4 separate regions of the Homo sapiens genome follow, and all the other regions are linked to region 2. Evidence: promoter capture Hi-C in 16 types of primary human blood cells and fetal thymus (Javierre and others, 2016). All regions are on one chromosome and are shown on one strand. The core of a region is centred on a gene start or on the middle of the fragment in contact, and the rest is flanking DNA. Distances in the headings are between cores, read along the strand shown.

The links. Contacts are between HindIII fragments. The CHiCAGO score rates a contact against its expected background, and 5 or more counts as called.
Region 1: a fragment that was not itself captured here is called in contact with the fragment with the promoter of RAD54B in region 2 in 1 of 17 cell types (monocytes); the score reaches 6.0 in monocytes.
Region 3: a contact is called between a fragment that was not itself captured here and the fragment with the promoter of RAD54B in region 2, in 5 of 17 cell types (naive CD4 T cells, activated CD4 T cells, total CD4 T cells and 2 more). The highest score is 7.0, in naive CD4 T cells.
Region 4: a fragment that was not itself captured here is called in contact with the fragment with the promoter of RAD54B in region 2 in 1 of 17 cell types (activated CD4 T cells); the score reaches 5.1 in activated CD4 T cells.

Annotation. Positions count from the first base shown.
Region 1 is chr8:94,842,610-94,845,527 of GRCh38, forward strand. The region is part of intron 10 of INTS8 (integrator complex subunit 8); the gene reads left to right. Among named protein-coding and RNA genes, the nearest start is that of INTS8, 21 kb to the left of the region's middle. The HindIII fragment of the contact is 2,342 bases long and covers 196-2,537 here.
Region 2 is chr8:94,473,733-94,477,125 of GRCh38, forward strand. RAD54B (RAD54 homolog B) reads right to left here and starts at 1,383. Exons shown (of 15, transcript NM_012415.3): 1 at 1,269-1,383. RefSeq lists an enhancer at 1,116-1,345. The HindIII fragment of the contact is 4,488 bases long and covers 675-3,393 here.
Region 3 is chr8:93,985,432-93,988,766 of GRCh38, forward strand. No RefSeq gene overlaps it. Among named protein-coding and RNA genes, the nearest start is that of PDP1, 70 kb to the left of the region's middle. RefSeq lists enhancers at 369-488, 559-608. The HindIII fragment of the contact is 1,955 bases long and covers 281-2,235 here.
Region 4 is chr8:94,073,531-94,076,629 of GRCh38, forward strand. No RefSeq gene overlaps it. Among named protein-coding and RNA genes, the nearest start is that of CDH17, 130 kb to the right of the region's middle. The HindIII fragment of the contact is 5,091 bases long and covers 1-3,099 here.

The DNA of each region.
Region 1 (2,918 bases), core at 117-2,616, 370 kb after region 2:
TGGCACTTTTGACAGACTATGCCCTTCCGCCTGGTCTTCTGCTGTAGCTCTTTTTCTAGTTCGCTCCATGTTTCTTCAGCATCTTTATTGGATTCTCCTTAGTCCTTCATTGACTTCTCTATTGCTCTTCCTTTAGTATTTCTGTTCATAGAACTTTTGTCCTTGGCTCACTCATCATTTTTTATTTACTTCCAAAGCTTCACTCATCTGTTTCATCACCTGTTTACTAAGAACTCCCAAATCAAGCCTCTTGTCTGTCATGTGTGCTGTGGAATCTGTGTTTCTACTGGATCACTCTACTTCTTTCTTAACAGTCTTAATGTTAGAGACATTGAGAGAAGTACATAAAGCACAGATAATACCACTTACTTCCAAAAATACAACGTTGCCAGCACTCTAGAAGCCTTTGTTGTGGTCTTTACAACCTCCTCTACCTTCCCTTGAGGTAGCTACTGCCCTGGCTTTTGTGATCATAATTTTCTTGCTTTCTTTTATATTTGTATCACCTCTGTATGTATCCTTAAAGAACATTCTTTAATTTGCCTATTTTGAACTTCATATAAATGGAATCATACAATGTGTATTCATCATCTTCTTTCACTAAAGAGATTTATTTGTGAGATTTATTCAAGTTGTATATAAATAACAATTTTTTTCATTGCTTTAAGGTGTTAGAGCCTGGGTGCAGTGGCTCACACCTGTAATCTCAGCACTTTGGGAGGCCAAGGCGAGTGGATCACAAGGTCAGGAGTTCAAGACCAGCCTGGTAAACATAGTGAAACTCCGTCTCTACTAAAAATACAAAAAATTAGCCGAGCGTGCTGGCAAGTGCCTGTAATCCCAGCTACTTGGGAGGCTGAGGCAGGAGAATCGCTTGAAACTAGGAGGCAGAGGTTTCAATGAGTGGAGATTACGCCACTGCACTCCAGCCTGGGCAACAGTGAGAGACTCCATCTCAAAAAAAAAAAAGTTAGAATATTATATGGACCACGCCACAATTTCTTCAGTCTTATGATGGGGGACATTTGTGTGTTTTATAGTTTTTGGCTGTATACACATATGATGGAGGGACATTTGTGTTGTTTATAGTTTTTGCCGCTTGGAACATACTTGTACATATATCTAGGTGTGCATACGTACCAGTTTATGTTACATACCTAGGGAATAATATATCTGCAACATTAATTTTTAAAAACCAAGTGGCTTATAACCACCAGCATGCCTGAGTGTTCTCATCAGTCAACATCCTTGTTAACATTTGATATTGTCAGATCGCCTGTGAGGTGGTTGTATAACAGTACCTCATTGAGGTTTTCATTTCTACAACTCTTCATTTAATTTTTACTCATGGATTTTGTTTTTTGAGGTACCTTTTCCAAGTGTTATGCCTCTTTTTTTTTTTGAGATAGAGTTCTGCTTTTTTTTTTTTATTTTTTTATTTTTTGAGATGGGGCCCCCTCTGTTGCCTGGCCAGGCTTTAGTGCAGTGGCGTGATCTCGGCTCACTGCAACCTCCGCCTCCCAGGTTCAAGCGATTCTCCTGCCTCAGCCTCCTGAGTAGCTAGGACTACGGGCGTGCGCTACCACGCCTGGCTAATTTTTGTATTTTTAGTAGAGACAGGGTTTTGCCATGTTGGCCTGGCTGGGCTCAAACTCCTGACCTCAGGTTATCTGCCTGCCTTGGCCTTCCAAAGTGATAGGATTACAGGTGTGAGCCACCGTGCCTGGCCAGAGTTCTGCTCTTGTTGCCCAGGCTGGAGTGCAGTGGTACAATTTCAGCTCACTGCAACCTCCACCTCCCAGTTTCAAGTGATTCTCCGGCCTCAGCCTCCGGAGTAGCTGGGATTACAGGTGCCCACCACCACGCCCTGCTAATTTTTGTATTTTTAGTAGCGACGGGGTTTTGCCATTTTGGCCAGGCTGGTCTTGAACTCCTGACCTCAAGTGATCCACCCACTTTAGCCTCCCAAAGTCCTGGGATTACAGGCATGAGCCGTGCCCGGCCATGTTATGTCTCATTTTTCTATTATATTGTCTGTTCTTTGGAAGGAGCTTTCTTTTTTGTAGGAGATCTATATATATTCTCTTTTTTACCAATTTTAAATATTGCAGATATCTTCACTGAGTTTGACTTTTAGTTTTTCTTTTTTTTTTTTTTTTGTTTGAGACGGGTCTCACTCTATCACCCAGTTGGAGTGCAGTGCTGTGATCTCAGTTCACTGTAACCTCCACCTCCTGGGTTCAAGCCATCCTCCCACCTCAGCCTCCTGAGTAGCTGGGACTACAGGCATGTGCCACCACGCCTGGCTAATTTTTTTTATTTTTGGTAAAGATGGGGTTTTGTCACGTTGTCCAGGCTGGGCTCGAACTGTTGAGCTCAGGTGATCCACTCACCTTGGCTTCCCAAAGTGCTGTGATTACAGGCATGAGCCACCACGCCCAGCTTAGTTTTCTTTATATTGTTCCAAAGCTCCTAAATTTAATATCAAATTTACCGATTTTTTTCCGTTGTAGTGATTTCTGTGTGTTGTTTAAGAAAGCTTTTTCCTATTGTGTCATGAAGATATTCTTCTATTATTATCTTCTAAAAGCTTTATAGCATAGCCTTCCTTTCACGTTTAGGTCTTTGATCAACCTACAGTTGATTTTTGTGTGAAGCAGGAAGTGTGCCAGCACCATTTACTGAAAGGTTAATTTTTTTCCCACCAATCTCTAGGGCCACCTCTATTGTATGCCGGGTGTTTATACATGTATGGGCCTGTTTCTGAGCCATTTTATACCACTTTTCTATTTGTCTATCCATACCTTATTATGTCCATGTCCTGATACCATCGAGAGCAAGTTCTACCTTGTTTTCAAGGTTGTATTGGTTATTCTTGTCCCTCATTCTGTTGCCCAGGCTGGAGTGCAGTGGCACAA
Region 2 (3,393 bases), core at 133-2,632:
TACACCAACTCTACCAAGAACCAGCAACGGTCTCTCCCTGCTGTTGCTGCTTGTCGACTTCCAACTACATTAGGTAGTAATTATTTCACTTCATGCCTTAAATTGCTCCTTTGAGACTCCGGCTATATAGATGGTTCCTAATTTAGGACGGTGTCACTTAGAATTCTTCGACTTTTAAGAAAGCCATGAGCATTCAGTAGAAACTGTACAAGTAACCACACAACCGTCTGTGTTCATGATTTTGCCCAACTGTAGATTAAGGTAAGTGTTCTGAGCATGTTTAAGGTAGGCTAGCGCAGCCATAAAAAGGAATGAAATCATGTCCTTTGCAGCAACATGGGTGCAGCTGGAGGCTATTATCCAAAGCGAATTAAAGCAGAAACAGAAAATCAAATATTGCATGTTCTCACTTATAAATGGGAGCTAAACATTGGGCATTCATGAACATAAAGATGGCAACAATAGACAGTGGAGACAACTAGAAGGGAGAGGAAAGGAGGAGCAAGGGTTCAAAAACTATTGGGTAACATGCTCACTACCTGGGTGACAGGATCAATCGTATCCAAACCTCAGCACCACGTAATATACCGATGCAACAAACCTGCACATGTACCCCCAAATCTAAAATAAACAGCTGAAAATAATTTTTTTGATAACAAAAGTAGGCTAGGCCAAGCTTTAATACTCAGTAGGTTAGCTGTGTTTTAAATCCATTTTCCATTTGGGATATTTTCAACCCCGTAGTAAGTCGAGAAGCATCTGTTCCTACCTAGAAAATCTTCCATAAGGTAATCGATTAAAAGGTTTTAAGGAAATACAAGAAAAACCTGACCAGTGAAGAGGTAAAAGCCCCTAAAGAAGGCGTACCGACACTCTCCAGGACGCTCGCAGAGCCTTCACCCCCTGGCCCTGGGGAAGGAAATTCCCAGTGCAGGAGTGAGGGAGAGACCCAAAAGCCAAGAGGAGCCTGCGCAAAGCGACCGCAGTGGCGGCCCCAGGGGCCACTGCCCAGAACCATCCCTCCCACACAAACGCACAACCCTAAACCCCCACCGCCCGCCCTTCGCTCCAAGGCCCCCGGGGCCAGCAACCAGGGCGTCCCTGGCACTTCAGACCAAAGCTGCAGGCCCGCAGAAGGCCACTTCGGTCGCTCCTGCCGCCTTCCCTCCCTCCTCCCTCGTTGGCCTGCTCCGGCGCCACTCCCTGCTTTGTCCCGCACGAGCCTACAGGCTGTCGCAGCCTCCCGAGCTTCCCCCTGCAGGACGCACCGGCGAAAATCTGACAGAAACCACTGGCCCTGCAAAGAAGTCCTTCTGGTAACCAGCTATCCCCTCGCCGCCGGAGAAGCTCAAGGATCCCGCCTCGGCGAAGCCAATCGCGGACGAGCCCGCCGCGCGTGCGCACTACCTAGCCGCTGCACTGCCCTGTCCTGCCCTACTCTGATTGGACGACCCTACTGCATCACTGCGCATGTATCTTTGCGTTTGGCTTTAAATGCTTCCAAGTTTGATTCAAGTTTACGGTTCAATTAAAAAAATACTGGTTTAGTGCCTACTTTCAGACACAGTGTAGATGCCGAGGCTACAGACCTCACCATCTGCGTGGATAAGTAATAAATACGGTATGATTCGGTGTGTGCGATAATAGAAATGCGTGCATCGCAGAAGTATACGATATCCTATTGGTTATTCATTCATCCGAAAAAACATTGACTTAGCGGTGCCTGCAGGATAATTTTCAAACTCTTTGTTAGGTTCTGGGAATATAGAAACGAATACGTGATTATTAGGCTCTCAGAAAAGGGGAGCCGCCTCCGGACTTGGAAAAGCATTAAAGCATGTTAAGTAGGAAAGTTACATCATTCAATGAGTATTTACTGAGCACCTTCTAAGTGCTAGGCGGTAACACAGTCAACTATCCCTGAAAAATGGTATTAGAAAGGCTAATCTGAAAGGAGAGAGAATGGCTAAAGGTTGTTTATTGAGTTTTATCCAGCAGTTTGACAAAAAGTAAAAGCTAAAAAATATCAAGGGTGAAATGAAGATGTGAAACAATGGGAACTCTTGGGCTGCTGGTAGGAGTGTAAATAGGTACAGCCATTTAAAAGAGTAATTTGAGGCTGAGAGCGGTGGCTTGTGCCTGTAATCCCAGTACTTTGGGAGGCCGAGGCGGGCGGATCACTTGAGGTCAGGAGTTCGAGACCAGCCTGGCCAACATGGTGAAACCCGGTCTGTACTAAAAATACAAAAATTAGCTGGTTTTGGTGGAGCGCGCCTGTAATCCCAGCTACTCAGCAGACTAAGGCGGGAGAATCGCTTGAACCTGGGAGGTGAAGGCTGCAATGAACCGAGATGGTGCCGCAGCACTCCAGCCTGGGCAGCAGAGAGACCCTGTTTCAAAAAAAAAGAGTAATGTGCTTAAGGAGCTTTTATCCTGGGGACTTTTTCCAGTCATAAAGAGCACCTCATAGGTTGAGTTGTGCTTTTGGCAGCTCCTGGAGCCAGCGTTACAAGAATTTGAAATGGGGACCTGCCAAGGTTGGGCACCTTAGTAAACCGCACCCCCCTCTTCTTTGGACTGGGACACATAAAGAGTAAGGGTAACCAGAAAACAAGCTAGCTTCATAGTGTCTGCAGCCTACCTTAATATCATCTGGGGAGTTCAGAAAATCTAAAACAGATTGGCTAAAGGTGACCTGGGACATTCCTCTTGCAGATTTGCATCTGGTTTGATCCTTCACTTCAGATCATTACTCACATATCAACTTGTCAAAGGGCTTTATCTGACAGTGCATTGCTCTCTTGTCTCATCTTGTATCTCCCTTACCCTGCTTTATAGAGTTCATCACACTTTCCATTCCCTAACATATACTTATTTGTTAATTGTTTTTCTATTACTCTCAGAATATAAGCTACATGAGGGCAGGATCTTTGCTTTATTCTCTGCTGTACCCATGTGTTTAGAATAGTACTAGTCTTTTTTGTTTTGTTTTGTTTTTTGAGACGGAGTCTTTCTCTGTCACCCAACTGGAGTGCAGTGGCATGATCTTGGCTCACTGCAACCTCTGCCTCCTGGGTTAAAGCAATTCTTCTGCCTCAGCCTCCCAAGCAGCTGGGACTACAGGCATGCGCCGCCACCAAGCCTGGCTAATTTTTTGTATTTTTGGTAGAGACAGGGTTTCACCATATTGGCCAGGCTGGCCTCGAACTCCTGACCTCGTGATCTGCCCACCTCGGCCTCCCAAAGTGCTGGGATTAAAGGCATGAGCTACAGCACCCAGCCAGAACTGTACTAGTCTTACAGACCGCACTCAATAAATATTTGTTGATATTTATTTGGAGGCCAAGGCAGGAGGATCACTTGAGGCCAGGAGCTTGAGACAAGACCAGCCTG
Region 3 (3,335 bases), core at 8-2,507, 490 kb before region 2:
ACCTCTGTAGACATTTCCAAGAAATGACTCTGATTCCTTAGCCACAGACTCTTGCCCAGTTTAGGCCAATCACAGGCCAGTGGGAGGAGGTACTACACGTGGCTCAGCCTGCATCATGGGACAGCCCTGTGGGCCGGTAGTGGCATAGTGAGGCTTTGGGGAAATCACTACAAGTTGTCCCAACCTGTCCACTCCCTCACAGCACTTTTGTGATTTGAAGGAAGCCACACAGTCACATAGCTCCTCGAATAGTCTCTGTGGTGATTTTCCTCCTAGAGGAAGCTTTGGGGAGAATGTGGGCACCTCAGCCTCTCTGTTCCTTTGACCCTTCAGACTCATTAAGTGCAGTGTGGTTCTTACAGTTCTCTCCGTGTAGCTTCCTGACTCACTGCATCTGCAGATGGCCCCACCCCAGACCTGAAGCATGGCAGCGCCTTTGGTATCTCCAGGGCTCCCACAGCCAACGTGTCTTCTACCACAGGCATGCAGCTCTTTTTCTGCATCCTGTTTCATCCCTGTGGCTGTCACTGTGGTCTGTTACCTCACAGCCTCCTAAACAGGGGCCAGCTCTGATCACATTGGTCTGCTGCTTCCAAGTGACAGTGGCTCTCCATTATCTCTCAAATTAGTGGGAGACTCCAGGGCTTGGCATTCAAGGACTGCCACGATCTTATCCCAAACAACTTCCAAGCCACTCTTGCGGGCATTGGGTGTTTAGATCCTGCTACTGTAGGACAAACAAGTAGGAAAGCCTTTGGGGACCAGTGTAAGGAAATGAGCAGGAAGGAGTGAGACTGGCTGGTGGCAGGTTGCTAGGCAGCCATACAGCAAGAAAAGCAACCTGCATGAGGCAGATGATCCTAGAAGCCAGTGAGCACTCCCGCATTCTTTGATGTTTGTTTTAGCTAAGATCAGCCAACTTAGGGTACTAACCAATGGAATTTTGTGAACCCATTTAACTCTGATATTTAATATGTTGAGGCTCAAGACATTTTTCCCTCTTTGGTGGTGAAAAAACCCATAAACTACTATTGTTTTTACTGGGGAATGTGTATGGGCGATTGGTGGGAGTGGTGTAGAGTGGGAGAGATTTCCCAAGTAGCAAAAAAGAAGACTAAAATGAAAGCCATTATTCTGCTTTTCAGAACTAGTTGCTTTTATTTCATGATGGTTGCCTGGAGACTTTGTTTATATGTATTTATAAAGAAATAAATGCTGAACTTAGGCCTAGAAATCCAAATGAAAAACATGTCATTCTCAGCTTTGAGATGTGGAGTGTTTGCTCTACGAGGATAAGAGGCCATGCTTGCCTGAATTCTTCTAATTTAAGACTCTCTTTTTAATCTGCTGATGAAGTTTTACATATGTATACACACACATATATATACTCCTCCCAAACACACACACACATATTTTAAACATTTTAAGTTGTCTTTTAAATGAACAATTACTTATTGCCAACAGGAACTCATTTCATCTTAGGAATGCTAGCAAATACTCCTGGCACCTAAGCATGATTAATATAGAGAGGAACATATGAGACACAATGCAAGGGTGGCTGATAATCCAGTTCCTGCTTGTCACAGGCCTTGGCTCAGCTCAGCTGGTCATGCAGATGAAGGCCGAGGAGATGGGCAGCAACCAGAAGGGCTCCAGGGTTGGCATCTGTGCATCAGACGACTCATAGGTCAAAACCAGGTTTTTCAAACCCTGCTCTGGCTAAAAAAAGTCCCAATTTCCCTGTGCCTCACATCCTGTTCTGTTTTCATGGAAAAAAAAATTCAAAAGAAAAGCACATTGGTTGATTTCCCAGACTTGCTCTTTTTTTATTTCCTGGTTCTGAAAATTTTCTTTTTCACTCTTACTTTTATAAGCCTGCAATTAATTCAGCATTTGAAATGTGAGCTTCTGAAACAAACTCCCATGAATGCTGCATAACCATGTTTGGTTTTGCTTTTCTCTTAAACTCCCCTTCTGGTTTTTGTTAACATTAAAAACACACACACACACAAAAGATAGACGGGGACTGGGGCAGGGATTTTCCAATGTGTTTTCAGAACAACCACTTATAGTCAAACATCAGCAAGGCCAGTTATTCTAATATTGCAGTAATGACTTCCAGGCACCAAAAAAGAAGGCATGTTGCAATAACTTTAAGACAAATTGCTGATAACATAATCATTGTCTTTTCCTCCTAGAGAAGTAAGAATTTTCCAAGCACTCTTAAGGACTGTAAGCTTTTCTGTGCCCTTACAAATCATCAAACTTTAATCCTCATTAGATACTGGTCAATATTTCCAGAGGAGAGGAAGTGCCACATGACTTTAAGTATCAAGCTTATGATTACCAACAAAGGAAAACTACATACATTACATGAGTGGTAGCTGCACCGTATGCCTGGACTATAGCATGCATGTTCACCTACTCATTCATTCATTCATCCCACAGTTCTAATCAGCAATTAACATAAACAGGATTCCTGTTCTAATCGATTTTTCAGGCTGATGTGGGAGGCGATAGGAGAATGTAGATAGACATTGAATAAGTATTTACAAGTGCACTTAGTTTTACAGAGAAGGGAACAGTTCTCTATGTGATAGAACTAGCCTAGTCTAGGAGCATGTGAAAGATTGCTGCAGAGAAGGCCACCAGCCTTTTCTCCCAACCCTCTAAGCACCTGCCACTCCAAGAGATGGGTCTATTTCCCCTCCCCTTGAACCTGAACTGGCCCTGTGATTTGCTTTGATCAATAGAATGTGACAGAAAATATACCCTGTGACTTCCAAGCATAGTCATTAAGATGCCTTGTAGCTTCTGTTTTCTCCCCTTGGAAGCCAAACCCATATAAAGAGGTCCAGCTGGAGAAATCTCATAGAAAGAGAATGGGACCCAGTCTGCCATCCCAGCCGAGGTACCAAACATGTGTGTGAAGCCACTTTGGACCCTCCACTTTCAGTTAAGCTGGTCCAGTGCCACATGGAGCAGAAATTAGCTGTCCCCAATCAAACCCAACTACACTGCAGATTCATGAGCAAATGAGTGGTGGTTATTTGAAGCCATTACATTTTGAAGAGGTGTGTTACCCAGCAATTGATAACTGGAACAGAGTCAGGGAGGTTTTCTGGAGGAAGTTCTATTTAAGTTAAGTATTGAAGACTGGGCAGAATTTGACTCTTCAGGAAAGGGTTAATATTCCAGGCAGATGGAGCAGCCTGGGAAGACCCCCAAGGCTGGAGGAACATGGTGCCTTCAAGACCTAGAAGCAGCCTAGTGTGACCAGAATGTAGAGAAGTAGTGAGCATGGAGGCTGGGGTGGTAGACAAGGCTTGTAAATA
Region 4 (3,099 bases), core at 332-2,831, 400 kb before region 2:
AGGGTGGTAAAATGGGCAGTCTGATGGTAGAGAGGTTACTGTAAACAGGAGGCAGCCAACTATGGCCCATGGGCAAATCTGGCCCACTGCTTGTTTTTGTAAATAAAGTTTTATTGAAACATAACCATGCCCATTTTTTTGCTATCATCTATGGCTGCTCTTAGGCTAAAAAAGCAGACTTAGGTAGTTGTGACAGAGACCACATGGCCCACACACCCAAAAGTGTTTGCTATCTGATTCTGCAAAAAAAAGTTTACCAAACCCTGCTCTCAATCACTACTCTAAAAAAAAGAAAAACAAAAAAAACCTCTTTCAATTAAATCAGAGCCCCCCAGAGGACACAGACTGCCTAATTTATTCCTGCCATCCTCTTAGCCTCTAACCTAGGAGATTCCATTATTGATGGTTACACTTCAACAAACTTTAAAATGCTTACTCAATTAAATAGATTTAAACTGTATTTAAACAATCCTGAACCTTCTTCTAAAAATGTAAAAATCCAGGCAAAAATAATATTTGCTGCAACCATCATTAAGCTAGATAAATCCCAGAGGTCAAGACCAATGGCTCCAACAGTGTGACAAGGACAACTCTAAATTAAAGTGCATGCTACATCTGTAGCAACCTCTTCTTTAAAAATGTGTTGTTTCTGTGAGTAGCTCTGCAGTGAGCTGCCCGGAATTTAAAAAGACAATATATCTTTCAGCACTTTGGAAACTAAAAAGTACACATAAGCAAAACCTCAAGGAGACAAGAATAAATAAGAAAAGCCTACACTAAATCCCTGGCATCGTGCAGTCAGCCCGGGAAAAAGAAGCAAAGGGTGAGGGATGCAGTGGACACCTCTCTTCAGCAGTGGGGAGGGGATGCGGCTGTTGGGCTCTCAGTCAGACTGGCAAATGGATGCCATTTTTGAGTGGGGCCTCAGAGCCAGGTGAGACCACATCCCAACCCCACCCAGTGTTTTCCATGGAGTTTGCCCAGTTTGGGGTCATGAGGGCTGCAGTGGTATAGGAAGGACACTGGACTAATATAGGAGATCTGGGGTCACTTCCCAGCTGTTTGATCCCCTGGTGACTTCCTGGCTGTGTCACCTGGCTATCTGGCCTGGAACCTCACACAGCAAGTGAGTGAATGAGTGTCAGTGAGTATGGGATGGACCGCTAGTACTAAAGCCAGATAGACCTGTATTTAAATCCCAGCTCAGCCTTTACTAGCGCCAGTGTCTTGTACAAGTAATTTATAAATTAGGTTAAACATTCTTTAAAGGCAGGGACTGCAGCTTATTCATCATTGCATTCCCCTACCTAGGAAACAATAGGTGCTCAATGTTGAATGAATGAACCTCTTTCAACCTTGGGTGTTACTGTGAACATTAAATGAGAAAATGAATATCAAGCCCAAGCATTTAGTAAGTGCTCAGTAAGTATAAATGATGATGACAGTGGGACTCTAATGTTAGTGATGTAAAATCTGCTTTTTTGTGCCTCAATTTCCTTCACTATAAAATGGAATAATAATTGCTTTATAGGATCACGTTTGTAAGAAATTAGGATAAAATGAATACAAAGCACTTTTTCCTCCCATCGAAGTTTTTACCTATCTCTATTTTAGCTCTTGTTATACTGCATGACAATTACCTTTCAATTGTTCTCCCACTCAGCACAGTTGCTGGAAAATAGCAGGTGCTCAATAAATGTATGCCACCTTAATTGCCTTTGTAATACATACAGAGTAGCATAATCATGAAAAATGACACTATACAAAGATAACTGTCAATTTTGAAGGCAGTGAACATTCTAGTAATGCCATAAAGAATCTTTCTGAACAGAAAGCAAGTTTACAAACTGTGCATTTAATGCCAATGCATAAATGTATTAATATTCTCCTGTCCTTGCCAATTTCTGGGGGATTTCCCATCTATAGAGTCAGCATTTCAGATCAGTGTGCCTTATAGATTGCGGTTCACATCTTTCCTGAAGTGGAAAATCATTCTTGGCTTTTGTCCAAGATTCTTACTTCTTTAGTTTTATTTAAGTGGTTTCTAATTTGGTTTATTTCATAAATTACGACAGTATACTGATCTTCCAGGTCATAAGTAAAGGTATTTCCCTCACAAAAGCCTACTAAGAACTTCAAAGCAGTTCAGACATTTCCATCCATCACCCGTCACCTTCTCTCACTTCCAACTGGTCATCCAGTCCCATGACATCTTTTTAGCTGAGCCAGATATGAGCAAACATTTCAAGAATCTTTATGAAACTTAAAATGGAGCTAATTTACTGCATTTGTAAATTTTGCTAAAAAAATGAAATAATTAAGGCCCTCTCAGCTACAGTAAAATGTGGACATTGTGAAGGAATAAGACTTATACTCAGCCTAGTAGAAAATGACAAACATGCTCAGGTATTGATTAGCACAAAGCTAGGGAGTAGCAAGGCAATGCGTTTTGACTCATTGTTGGCAGACATGGTAATCAATCAAACCGTACCAAAGTTCTGAATCTTTTTCTATGTGATGTGAAACAAATGACTCCTATGCAGCAGCATGCAAGTCCTGTTGCCTTCTCTGCAGCTCTGTTCTTCTTACCCACTCCTGAAAGCACTTCCAAATGCAAGGGAGCTAGATAGCCATTCAACTGGGAGAACCTGGAGACCACGCTAATTTTTAAGTTAGTTATTGGCAGTACTAGTACACACTAGTAACAAGCTGATAGTAATTAGTTATAATTACTATAGACCATCTTTCCATCTTGCGACTGATTGCAACACATTAGTGTGTTCTAACTGCGTAAGAATCGTCCAGAAATATTAAGATAATTGAATAGAATAGATAGGCACTACTATCGTCTGAATATTTGTGTCCCTCCCAAATTTATACGTTGGAATCCTAACGCCCAAGGTGATAGTAACTAGGAGGTGGGGCCTTTTGAGAGGTAATTAGGCCACCAGAGCAGAGCCCCGGTGAATGGGATTGGTGCCCTTATAACAGGCCCCAGAGCGCTCTTTCACTCTCCCACCATGTGAGGACGGTGAGAAGGTGCCAACTATGAACCAGGATGCGAGCTCCCACCAGATGCTGAGTCTACTGGAGGCTTCA